2 separate regions of the Homo sapiens genome follow, and region 2 is linked to region 1. Evidence: promoter capture Hi-C in 16 types of primary human blood cells and fetal thymus (Javierre and others, 2016). All regions are on one chromosome and are shown on one strand. Each heading gives the region's core, a stretch centred on a gene start or on the middle of the fragment in contact. The rest is flanking DNA. Distances are from core to core; before and after follow the strand shown.

What was found. The method cuts DNA at HindIII sites, captures the fragments that hold promoters and counts their contacts. A CHiCAGO score of 5 or more calls a contact.
Region 2: a contact is called between a fragment that was not itself captured here and the fragment with the promoter of SERPINB1 in region 1, in 2 of 17 cell types (non-activated CD4 T cells and activated CD4 T cells). The highest score is 6.4, in non-activated CD4 T cells.

Annotation. Positions count from the first base shown.
Region 1 is chr6:2,838,278-2,845,323 of GRCh38, forward strand. SERPINB1 (serpin family B member 1) reads right to left here and starts at 3,586. Exons shown (of 7, transcript NM_030666.4): 1 at 3,535-3,586; 2 at 2,142-2,317; 3 at 272-409. The coding sequence starts at 2,309. RefSeq lists a silencer at 3,481-3,530. The HindIII fragment of the contact is 1,424 bases long and covers 2,391-3,814 here.
Region 2 is chr6:4,010,101-4,016,658 of GRCh38, forward strand. LOC124901245 (a long non-coding RNA gene) reads right to left here. Exons shown (of 2, transcript XR_007059415.1): 2 at 1-1,500. Among named protein-coding and RNA genes, the nearest start is that of PRP4K, 7.9 kb to the right of the region's middle. The HindIII fragment of the contact is 3,852 bases long and covers 283-4,134 here.

The sequences.
Region 1 (7,046 bases), core at 2,336-4,835:
TAAGATTTCACAAACACTGATTGTACTCTTGCTTCAGTAAAACCTCCAAGAGCTATCTTTTCACTAAAAAGACTGTAACACAAAATCACCATGTCAATTAAAGTTTGCATTCTGTCGTGTTTGCCTTCCATATTGTTTTTGCCATGTTTGCCTTCTGTATTGTTTTTCTGAAAGTTTACAAATATTAAAACTGACCTCCATGACTTGATTGTGCTGGAAAATATCTGCACTGTCTAGTGGGGTTTTAGAATGTGAAGGGCAAAGTACTTACAGGAAGGAAATTGTAAGTTTTCTCTCCATATAATCTATTAGCAAGTTTCAGAATATAAGACGCTCCACGTTTGTTGATATCAGCATTCAGACTCTGGAATCTTGAATGAACCTCTTCAACCGTGTTGAAATGGAAAGTCTAAAATAAAGAAAATCTTCTTTCTACAACCATTTATTTTGAAACTATAAAGTGATTCCTTGGTGTTTCCTTCTATCACATTAAATTAATGTGTTTTTATTACTAATTATTGATGATCCCAAACCCAATACTTTATTAATTTGTCATTGCAGAACAAACAATAGGAAATCCAAAATTTATGGCTTCGTGAGACAGAATGTTTACAACTTTACACATTGCTTTTACATCACTCTTTGTTACACTTGCAGTTCCACAAATGTGGGTGGTTAAGATACTAAATATTTATATATAAGTCTGCCTTTTCCAAAGAAAATAATAAATGGTATGTTCATATTTATATTCTGTATCAAATATAATTTTACTGAAAGTTCTCAGAAATAAGCAGTAAAAATAGGATTCATCCTCTATTCAGAACCACAAAGATAGTACAGACTGAAGCTTTTAAAATTTTATTACCCTATTAACATCAGTAACTCACTTATTTTAAAATAACTTCCTTAAACTTAACATTCTGGCAAAAGTTTAATTCCCCATGTATCAGTTACAAATCAAGAGGCCCTTTGTGGTTTTATGAGACCTAGGCTGGTTCCTTTATGATTAAGACACAAAGAACAAAATTGCATAGGGTACGAAGTCCACATTACTCACCGAGATATGGAATGTTTGCACTGTGCCTATGCTCCATCTGCTTTAATGGAAATGGGGGAGGAGTCCTTAAAACTATTCTTTGCTGAGGTTTTAAAGTCCCTGGAAAACCTCAAGCTAGGAACTGATATAACCCTGCAAGAAGCAACTAACAATTAGTAACAGAGGTTTTTTTTTTTTAATGGATTTAAAAAAAACATTTAAAATGCTTTCATATCTAAAGTGATGAGTAATAGAAGTTTCGCAGCCCCTTGAACTTGAATCCCAGGCTGCACCTTGCCAAGGAACAGGTGCAGTGTAATTTGCGGCAGGTATGTTAGAAGAGCCTCCACTTTTACCACTCCTTTCTGCTGAGCTTAGAGAGAGAGAGCTAGAGTTCTCTTCTCAGAATTAAAGAGTACCAAGCACAGAAGTCCTCTCCATGTCCATTATGGACAAGAAGGAAGGCTGGGCATGAGAGTGACCTGTCACATCGCCAAGGGCTGGGTCCCGCCCCTGAAGCTGCGGGTCTCCCCCTCACCTCCCCTGCAGGGCGTGCTATGCCACAGCCCACTGAGCCATGCGCAGCACCCTGGGACTACAGAACCACAGGGTCACTTTTTCTCTTTTCCTTGCAAAAAAGCAATGCCACTATCTCCACTATAATGCATTCCCTATGTCTTATTCCTCTCATTATGCTTGAAAGTAGTGTTATATAACAGGCAATATTTATGAGTTGCATATCATCATATGCAAAGCAAAAACTGGAAGATGCTAGCTCAGGAGGATGTAGTATGCCTTTCAGGAAAGCTGTCAGATTCATCCACTGGAACAGAAGCCTCGCCCTGCAGGGATTTTTGTCAGCTTTGCTCACTGCTGTCTCCTCAGCAATACGAAAAACAGTTCCTGGTACGTGGTAGGTACTTAGGAAAAACCTGATGATGAATGGAAGCCTGCATACAAGTGTGACTTTTCTGAAAGTCTGATCTCATAAAAATACAGTTCTGAAAACACAAGGTAAGAGCTCAAAGGCACAACCTTTCCATGCAGACTGTCCATTCGTAGGGAGATGGGAGGAAAGCAGACCCTTTTTTTTGTTTCTGCTGACCTTGGACAGCTGTGCTGCCGTGTTACCTCTGGTCCCCAGAAAAACCATGGCCATAGCAGATGAAATGCTGAAGGGAGAGATGAAGATGTTTCCAGCCGGATTGTTCTCACTCAACGCCAGGAACAGGTCCAAGGCGAAGCGGGTGTTTGCTGAGCTCAGCTGCTCCATGGTGAAAACTGCAACACAGAACAGGGTCCTCATGGTGCCCACTGCCCACGCCAGCAGATTAGGCAGCACTATTTCTCCAGAAGCTTCCTCAATTTCTGCCAACCGCCCTGAGGCATCCTGGATCTTGTACTTTCTCCCCGCTTTTTTATTCCAGCAGGGCAAGAACACTTTCCCAGGCCCACAAATGTGGGACCATTCTGGCCAAGGACTCAGCAGTTATAGGGGATTTTAGGGCACCCAGGGTGCCCTAAAGGGCTCTGACCTTGCAGACAGGTGAGTCTGGGGGTGGGGCGGGGGTAAGGCAGGCCCCAGCTACCCCAGCTTTAGTGGGGTGGGAGGGCCCACCCAGCCCTGGGTCTTCCCAACCTATGTGTGGGAGCGCACGTGCTTCTGAGCCTTTGATTCAAGTCTCTGATTCATTGGGCAATGAATCCATTGCCTACCTTCACCTGAACTAAGAGCCTTCTATCAGAGACTCAGCTACCTACTATGCATTAAAACTCCAGCAAAGGTATCACTGTAATTATTATAATAATATAATTCTTCCTTATTTTTGAGGTTCAAAAGGTATGAGGTCCAGTGCCCACAGTCTCAGAGCCGGTGTAGGATGTGCCAGTTTGGAAACCCACCACAGTCCAGGGTCTGGCCGTGCAGCGTCCCATCCGCCACCCACTAGCCCATCTCGATCTCCACTCTCAGAGCCCTGATTTCCCCCGAGGACAGGCAAAGAAGAACCGTGCTGGCTGCTCGGCATGTAAGCACAAAGCTGATTTCTCCTTGTTGTGAAATCGTCTCTAGAATCGCACGGGGTTCCTCCTCTCTCTCCCTGCAGCTGCAGATAGGAGCCGCGGCCTGGCCCTGGGCTGCCTGGAAACCGTCACAAACAGCTCTGGGAGGAAGGGAATTCAGGGAGAAGGGACAACATTCTGATCTCAGGTTTCAGTCTTGCCTTCCGCCTGCATCTGTCGTCCTCCCTCCCTCCCTCCCTCGCGGGCTGGCCCGGCCTGTACCCAGGCGGGGGCGGGGGATCAGAGGTCGTCTGTCTCCGTCGGGGCGCCCGGAAGGGATGGGGGCGCGAAGCTGGCGGGGAGGGCGAGCGCAGGGAGCTGCGGGTCTGAGGGGCCTGAGCCTGGGGGGTGGGGGGTGCCGGGCTGGAAGCTGAGCGAGGGAGCCTGGCCTCTCCCCGCGCCCGCCCCCGCGCCACCGCTCCGAGGCCCGGCCTTACCCGACAGGCCGCCGAGGCACGCTCCGGGCTCCGAGCTGGGTGCGAGGTCAGGAAGGAGGCACCGAGGGCCGCTGCTCTTATAGCAGGCGGAAGCGTCACCCGGGCCAGCAGCCGCGGGCGGGGCGGCGGCCCTTCCCGGTGACTGCGTAGGAGTCCGAGCTCCCGAGGTCGCCTAAGTGCAAGCAGAAGTGAGCGTGGCTTCCGGGCAGCGCCCTCCTCAGGGGCGCGGCTTCTTTCTCAGTTCAAAGCCTTTCCCCGAATCTCTGGCAAGGACCTGAAAAGCTTTTTCTTACTAAGGTGTGAATGACTGAGACGACATATTGTGACACCTCTTAGAGGGCAAATGACTCCCTTTGAGTCCCATCTATATTGGGAGCTTTCTTTGAGAGAAGGAAGCAAATTTGGGGATCTTGCACAGGGAAAAAGAGGGGCCCCCAGAATCAGATGAAACAGAACCAGTTCCAAACACCTGCTCTCTGTTTCCAAGATGACAGCTTGCTGCTGCGTCCTCAATGGTGGAAAGTGGAAGGGCAAAAGGGGCCAAATCTCATGTGAAGTCTCTCGTATAAGGGGCCAATCCCATTCATGAGGAAGGTGCCCTCATAATCCAGTCACCTCCTAAAGGCACCACCTGTTAGTATTGCATTGAGGATTGTTTCAGCATGAATTTTGCAGGGAACACAGACATTCAAAGCATAGCATTCTGCCCCTGCCCTCCAAATTCATACCCCTCTCACATGCAAAATGCATGCATTGTATCCCAGTGGCCTCCAAAGTTCCAGTATCAACTTTAAAATGTAAGTCCAAAGTCTCACCTAAATATCTTCTAAATTAGAAAGGCATAAGATTCAAAGTACAATTCATCCTAAGTGAAATTCCCCTCCAGCTATGAGCCCGTGAAATCAAATAGGTTACAGGCCTTCAAAATACAGTGATGAGACAGGCATAGGACGTACATTCCCATTCCCAAAGGGAGAAGCAGGCAAGAAGAAAGGAGTATCTGGTCCCAAGTAAGTCCAAACCCAACAAGGCAAACAGCATTAAATCTTGGGGCTTCAGAATAATCTTCTTTGATGCTGTGTCCCCCATTCCGAGCACAGGGGGGTGGAGACTGGGTCCCCTAGTGTCCAGGGGATCCACTCCCATGGATTTGCCAGGTGCAACCCATGCAGCAGCTCTCACAGGTTGAGGTCTAGGCTCTCCCAGGATAGACTTGCATGCTGGTGGCTGGACAGTTCTGGGTTCTCAGGGACAGCCCTGTTCCCACAGCTCCACTAGATATTACTCTATTTGGGGCTCTCTGCAGTGGCCCCAATCCCACTGCTCCACTAAACATTGCCCTAGTGAGGGTTTTCTGCAGCAGCCTCACCTCAGTGACAATTCTCAGACTGGGCCCCCAGGGTCCCCAACACATCCTTCAAAATCTAGGTGGAGGTGGCTGTGTCTCCACAGTTCATGCACTCTGTGCACCTGCAGAGTTAGCATCACGTGGACTCTGCCAAGGCTTACAGGAAGGGTGGCCTGACAAGGGCCTGCATAAGCCACACGTGGGATGGTGGCCAAAGAGTGCTGCACCAGAATGTGGGGGGTGGGGGGGCAGAGACTTGAGGCAGCCCTAGGCAGCAAGCCCCAAGGTTCCATGGTGTCCTGAGTCCTCCCTTAAAACTATTCTGCCCTCAGGGTCCTGGCACTCTGGGACAGGGATGAGAATCCAGAACCAGTAACCTCAGAAATGCCTTTGGGTTCATTCTTCCATTGTCTTGATAAATAGCATCTGGCTTCCTTCTACACATACTCATCTCATTATCAAATGTGAACCTGGCAGCACTCTTGGTGTTCCCTCCCAAACATGCCTTTTCATTCTTTACATGGCCAGGCTGAGAATTTTCCAAAACTTTAAGCTCTGCTTCCCTCTTGATTATAAACTTCGTTTTTAATTCATTCTCTCTGCTCACATTTTACTACAAGCAGTCAAGAGAAGCCATGCTGCACTCTCAACGCTTTGCTCAGAGATTTCTTCCATCAAATATCCTAGTTTATTGCCTTTAAGTTCTGCCATTCAGAAAACACTAGGACATAGACACAATTCAGCCAAGTTCATTGCCACTGTGTAACAAGGATGACCTTTCCTCCAGTTTCCTTTTAAGATCTCATCAAAAGTGTCTTTACCATCTATACTTCTAACCGCATTCTGATCAAGACCAGACCACTTAATTAATCTCTAAGATGATTTAGGCTCTCCCTACAGCTCTCCTTGTCTTCTGAGCCCTCACCCTTAATTTCCCTTAAAGCTCTGTTTATGTCTATACAGGCTTTTTCCAGCATGCATCTCCAAATTCTTCCAGCCTCTACCCATTACTCAGTTTCAAAGCTGTTTCCACATATTTAGGTATTAGTTATAGCAACATCCCATTCTCAGTATCAATTTCTGTCATAGTCCATTTGTGCTGCTATAAATACCTGTGATTGGGCAATTTATTAAAAACAGAAATGTATTGCTCACAGTTCTGGAGGCTGGGAAGTCCAAGAATAAGGCATCCACATATTTGGTGCCTGGTGTGGGCTGCTCTCTGCTTCCAAAATGGCACCTTGTTGCTGCATCCAAGGGGGAAATATACTGTATCTTCACGTGGCGGTGGGAGGGATGGAAAGGGATGAACGCACTCCCTCAAGGGCCCAAATCCCACCCATGACGGTTCTGCCCTCATGACTTAAGCACTTCTTAAGGCTCTACCTCTTAATACTATCACATTGGTGATAAAGTTTCAACATATGAATTTTGGGGAGACACATTCAGCCCATAAAACATCTGTTCTGTCAGGTGAGGACACAGCATTTGTCCCTTCTGCCTTTCCCACCAAATGAGAACACCGCAAGAAAATGCCCTCATCAGACACTGAGTCTGCACCTGCAGATCTCGAACTTCCCAGCCTTGGACTTCCCAGCCTCCAGAACTGTAAGAAATAGGTGTCTAGTGTTTACAAGATGTTTTGATAAAGCAGCAGGAAAAGACTAAGACAGGGGCTCTTCTTGAGAAGCCGGCCTTGTTCTTATCCCTCTTGTCTAGGAGAAATGTGTGGACACGGCCACATTACTGCCCCCGAGTCTTCCTAGCCCATCTCATCCAACAATAATATGGAGAAGTGTCAGTCTCCTAAGCGTTTTTCCTTATTCTCCTCCACCTTGAATTATTCCTGAATTATTCCTCCTGCCTCCAGCTCCTGAAAGTAGAACTTAGACTTTTTCTGGCTCTTCAAACGAGCTGCTACTGATCACCCAGAACTCTCAGAAGCATCTTGAGAATTTTTTTCTTCACTCTTCAAGTCATTTTGAATTAGCTTGTTTTCTTGTTCAGTTTAAGAAACTGCTATTAAGTGAATTGTGACACTTTTAATAAACTTGCAGCATGGTGAAATTAAAAGTCTCACAATAGCGTTTTGTAAATATGTTAAATATAATTCTTGTGGGTAAATTATTTCCATGTTGTGCTCGCTGGGTAATATATTTTATTT
Region 2 (6,558 bases), core at 959-3,458, 1.2 Mb after region 1:
CACACAGGAAAAAAAGAGAAACTGACACCAAACAAACAGGCAAATAAATATACTGACAAACAGTCCAACAAGGTTTTATCAGGGAAAATAATAGGATACTTTAAGAAAGTTATAGAAAAAAACAGGTCCTAATTTATCTAGGAACCAGAGGGAAAGCTGTTATTTAGATAAGGGCTATCTGTGAGACGGACATTTAAGCCAACACTTGAAAAATAAGTCATGGTGATCAAGAGGAAGAGTGAGAACAGAGAAATCCAGGCAGTAGAAATATCAAAAACCCTAAGCTTTAATGTAGGAAAAAGCATGGCATGTTTTAGGATTAACACAAGGGCCAGTGTGGCTGAAAGATTAAACTGAAAAATAGGCAAGGTTTAAATAATCAAGGCTTTACAGCCACATTAAGAAGTTTGACTTTTATTTGATTTTTATTCCAAGTAATACAGTACATATATATAATTTCCCAATAAGTATTTTGGAAATTATTTTATTCATGATTTGGAAAATACAATCCTAAGAACAGATCTGCATGATAGAAAGATAATATGTATTCTAGAATTCTGAATCCTTTTTTTTTAATTATTATTTTTATGTATTTATTTTTGAGACAGGTCTCACTCTGTCACCCAGGCTGGGGTGCAGTGGCGCAATGACAGCTCACTGCAACCTTGAACTCCTGGTCTCAAGTGATCCTCCCACTTCAGCCTCCTGAGTAGCTGGGGCTATAGGCATGCTGCACCATGCCCGAATTCTGAATCCTTTACTGGAAACCTCACCTTTCCTCCAGTCACAAGGACCCCCCTGGGCTTCCATACTGCACTCGTCCCACTTCCTGACCTGAGGACACACCCAGCAATACCACTTCCTCTCCTACAGTAAGGCTAGCACTTTCTGGGACCCAAACCTAGCCTAGTTATGACACCTAAACACAAACTAAGCCACAACCTACTTATCCAGTCACAGCCAGTACCAAGGAGCCCTGGACTCTTTCTAACTCTTCCTATGTCAATGGCTGACCAAAGACCAATTGCATTGAAGAAGTTTTATAATATATGATTTACTAACTAAGGCATAACAAAGAAGAATAAACAACCTGTTTTTGAAAGCAAATTCTAAAAGTGAAATTTGCAACTATATGGATATTGTTAGCAAAAATATGTCTATGCTACATTTGTCCCATTTTAAAAAATGAATATGCATTTATTTAGAAAATATCTCCTAAATACATACCGTATCCTAGACATATTTTCAAAATGCAGAAGCACACAGTAGAAACTAAAGTTATTTTTCATTAAAAAGTGCAATTTATATTAGCAAATAATGGGTTTATTGATATTTTAAGTGAATTAATAAAAATTTTTACATTTCTCAATGTTAATAGATTACAACAAGTATTAGCAGGTATTACCTTCATAAATAAAAGCTCTTCGATCATTTTTAAGGCCATAAAGGGGTCCTCAGACCAAAATGTTTGAGAACCACTGTCACTGGTTCAGGAAGAGACTAAAAAGAGGAAAGAAAGTTAGGAAGATGGTTTTGTAGGCATGAATGCCTGTTTTAGTATACCTATAGAGGGAATGAATCACATTTGAGACAATATGAATTAAGGACATTAACATCCCTAAATATTAATAGCTAAAGATTTGTGGTATCTCTCTTATTATATATTCAAAATAAAACAACATTAAGCCATAGAATAAATGTGATGAAATCCAACATATCTCTGAGATTTTCTGATTTCAATGATCTTTTTGAAATATCAAGTAACACAACCTTCCACCCACACCATACATTTTTAGATTCTCTTGTTTTGATGATACCCAAAACGTGCTCATTGTAAATACTAGGCAAACAGGCTCCTTGCTACTCTAAGTGACTTCCATTAACCAGTACCAGCATCCCATGGGAACTTGCTGGAATTGCAAAAGGGAAGACCTCACCCCAGACCTACTAAATCAGAATCCACATTTTAGAAAGATTCCCTAGATGATTTTTACATGCGGTGGACTTTGAGAAACACTGGGCTAACTAATATAGATGCTTAGGAATTCGTTATTGATCAATGTTAGATCCATAGAAAAGAAGAAATTTCAAAGGACTTACAGGATGGATGGTGATTATAACGTTATGAAATGACCCTTTGATAATGTATTCAATTCTCTGGCACATGAAATTGATATTTTATTTGCGATACACATAGTAAAACAAATATATATTCTCCAGCTTTCACAGAATGTATAAAACATAGTAAACAGATTTCCAGGATCTGTGTAATGAATTTTTGGAATCCACGCTTATGTTATTATGCTAAAAATTCATGAGAGAACCTTTGCTTCCTGCTATATAGAACAGCAGGAACCAGACTTAACCTGCTTAATAACTAGAAAACCAGACAAAATATAAAACCAACTGTGTCAGATGCTGGACAACAGATAGCACAGCACTATGATCCCTAGGAGCAGAGAAGCAAATGAAGAGAGCCCTAAAACTACTACAGTTTTTGGCCTGAATGCCATTACAAACTGCAGAAGAGGGAAGAGAATTTCAAGTAGACCACAGTAGTGCAGATAAATTGAGGTATTTAGAGGCTAGTCTTCTGAGAGTCTGAAGTAACTGAAAGTTGCAGGGCAGGGACCTGGAGAGGTGGGAGACAGACAGAAAAAAATGTGAATAGGGGTGTGATTTTACATGAGGCTGCACAAAGAGGAATTACGTGACTATGAGCTGGATGGTTCCAGTATTGCACATACAACTGAATGTGACAAGGACAGACAAGGATGCCCACACTTATCACTTACATTCAACATAGTACTAGAAATCCTAGCCACAGAAATTAGGCAAGGAAAAGAAATAAAAGGCATCCAAATCAGAAAGGAAGAAGTAAAATTGTCTCTGCAGGTGACATCATCCTATATACAGAAAACCCTAAATACGCCACTAAAAACTGTTAGAATGAATAAACGAATCCAGTAAAGTTTCAGGATACAAAATCAACATACAAAAATCAATTACACTTCACTAACAGTGAAGTATCCAAGAAAGAAATTAAGAAAGCAATCCCATTTACAATAGCATCAAAAGGAATAAAATACTTAGGAATAAGTTTTACCAAGGAGGGGAAAGATGTGTATGCTAAAAGCTATAATACATATATGAAAGAACTGGAGATGACACAAATAAATGGAAAGCTATCCCATGTTCAGGATCAGAAGAATCATTATTGTCAAAATGTCTGCAATACACAAAGTAGTCTACAGATTCAACGCAATCTCTAGCAAAACTCCAATGACATTTTTCACAGAAAAAAAAAAAAAATTCCTAACATCCATACAGAACCCAAAAGACCCAGAATATCTAAAATGATCCTGAGCAAGAAGAACAAAGCTGGTGGCATCACACTTCATTTCAAATTATATTACAGACCTACAGTAATCAAAACTGTATGGTACTGGCATAAAAGGAGACATATAGACCAATGGAACAGAATAGGAATCCCAGAAATAAATCCTCGTTTATGTGGCCAACTAATCATCAACAAAGGTGTCAAAAGTACACAATAAAGAAAGGATAGTCTCTTTAATAAATGGTGTTGAAAAAGCTAGATAACCACATGCCAAGAAATGAAATTGGACCCTTATCTTACCCCATCCACAAAAGTCAATTCAAAATGGTTAAAAGAGGCCAGGCGCAGTGGCTCTTGCCTGTAATCCTAGTCCCTTGAGAGGCTGAGGCGGGTGGATCACTTGAGGTCAGGAGTTCAAGACCAGCCTGGTGAAACCCCATTTCTATTAAAAATACAAAAATAAACCGGGCACAGTGGCACATGCCTATAATCCCACCTACTCGGGAGGCTGAGGCAGGAGAATCACTTGAACCCAGGAGGTGGAGGTTGCAGTGAGTCAAGATCATACACCACTGCACTCCAGCCTGGGCAACAGAGGGAGACTCTGTCTCAAAAAAAAAAAAAAGTGAAAAGACTTAAGTGTAAGACATGAAACTGTAAAACTAGAAGAAAACAGTGGAAAAGCTCCATGACATTAGTCTTGGCAATAATTTTGTTTGTTTGTTTTGTAAATGACACCAAAAGCACAGGCAACAAAAGCAAAAATAAGCAAATGGAACTAAACCAAACAAAAAAGCTTCTGCACAGCAAAGGAAACAACAAAATGAAAAGGCAGTCCACGGAATGGGAGAAAATACTGAAAAACCTTTTATCTAACAAGGGGTTAATATCCAAAATATACAAGGAACTCATACAAAGAACTCATGCCTGTAATCCCAGCACTTTTGGGAGGCCAGAGCTGGAGGATCACTTGAGGCCAGGAGTTAGAGACCAGCCTGAGCAACACAGTGAGACTCTGTCTCTATAAAAAATTTAAAAATTAGCTGGGTGTGGTGATGTGTGCTTATAGAGTAATATAGTTACTCAGAAGGCTGAGGTGCAGAAAATACAAATATTAGCCATGCCTGGTGGCATGTGCCTGTAGTCCCAGCTACTCAGGAGGTTGAGGTGGAAGGATCACTTTGAGTCCAGGAGTTTGACGCTACAGTGAGATATATTCATGACACTGCACTCCAGCAGCCTGGGCAACAGAGCAAGACCCTGTTATCCCTCCAAAAAAAAAAAAAAGAAAGAAAAAGAAAACAAAATTACTCCAGATGGTAATGAATCCACAAGAAAAATAAACAAACAACCTGAAATGATAAATAAGGTTACTATAACAAAAGCTACAAATATATATTTGCTTTCCTTTGTTCATTTTCTTTAAATGATGTAAAAGTAATAATTGTAGTAATGTATTGTTGAGTTTGTAACAACTATAACATGTACAACAACAAAACCACAAAAAAACAGGGACATGGAATAAAACTATATTGGAGTAAGGTTTCTATATCTCACTGCAATTGAGTTAGTATAAATCTGAAGCTGATTCTAATAAGTTAAGCTAATTGTACGGTAAGCCCTAGAGCACCACTACAGTCTCTAAAAAAAACTTAAAACAGTGTAAAAAATCATTCAAGAAATTAAAATGCTACATTAGAAGATATTCACTTGATCCAAAACAAAGCAGTAAAGGAGAGACAGGAAAAGAAAAAGACAAGACATAAGGAAAACAAAAATAAGATGGCATACATAAATCCAACTATATCAATAACATTAAATGTGAATGATTAAACAATTGGATCAAAAGGCAGAAATTATCAGATTAAAAAAAACAAGATCCGGCCAGGCACAGTGGCTCATGCCTGTAGTCCCAGCACTTTGGGAGGCCGAGGCAGGTGGATCACAAGGTCAGGAGTTTGAGACCAGCCTGGCCAACATGGTGAAACCCCGTCTCTACTAAAAATACAAAAATTAGCTGGGCGTGGTGGCGGGCCCCTGTAATCCCAGTTACTGGGGAGGCTGAGGTGGGAGAATCGTCTGAACCCGGGAGGTGGAGGTTGCAGTGAGCCCAGATCACGCCATTGTACTCCAGCCAAGGAGGCAGGGCAAGACTCTGTCTCAAAACAAAAAACAAACAAACAAACAAAAAACAAACCAAGATCCAACTATATGTCTACAGGAGACACATTTTAGAGTCAATGATACAAAGCATGTAAATAGTAATCACGTGAGAACTGAAATAGCTACATTAATATCAGACAAAATAGACTTTAAAACAATGTTACTAGAGAAAAAGAGAAACATTTTTAATGATAAAAGGATAAACCCACAAGGAAGATGTAACAATTTACAAGGATAGATGCACCTAGTAACAGAATATATGTAGCAAAAACTGACAGAAATGAAGGGACAAATTGATACCTCAAGAACAGAAGATTAAGTCTTTCATACTCCTGTTCCAACTAGTTAGACTCCACAACAGGTAACATGACTGAAACAGAACTCTATTTAGTTTCCCCCAACTTTCAGTCTCTATCTTGGTAAGTAGCAACTGTATCTGTTTAACTGCCCAAACCAAAATTCTTTAAGTCACTTTCTCTTGAATTCCACATCCCATCAATCAGTGAATCCTATAACTTCTCCCTTCAAAATATATCCAGAACCCAATCATTTTTCCCTACTTACACCCTGATCGAAACTAACACCATCTCTCACAGAGATTACTTAAATACTCTCCTAATTGGATTGCATCTTCCTCCCCTGGTCCCTTGCAGTCTATCTCCATATGGCAGCCAAATGAGCCTTCTAAAACAAATCAGGTCACTCCTCAACCCTGAACTTACTCTGTCCAGTAAACTTTTTTTTCAAAATAATTATTTTTATTTTTATTTTATAGAGATAGGGTTTCCCTATGTTGCCCAGGCTGGCTCGAACTCCTGGGCTTAAGGGATCTTTCCACTTCAGCCTCCCAAAGTGACACAATTACAGGCCTGAGCCACTATGCCCAACCTGTCCAGTACACTTTCAGTGAAATCTAAATCCTACAAACTCCCTTTCCTGCATTACTTCCTACTCCCTTAATCACCCTACTCTCATCGCACTGGCCTCTGCCATTTTCAGCAAGTTGATAAACCCAATTTATAATATAATTCTATTTTTAGAAAACACTACAGGCC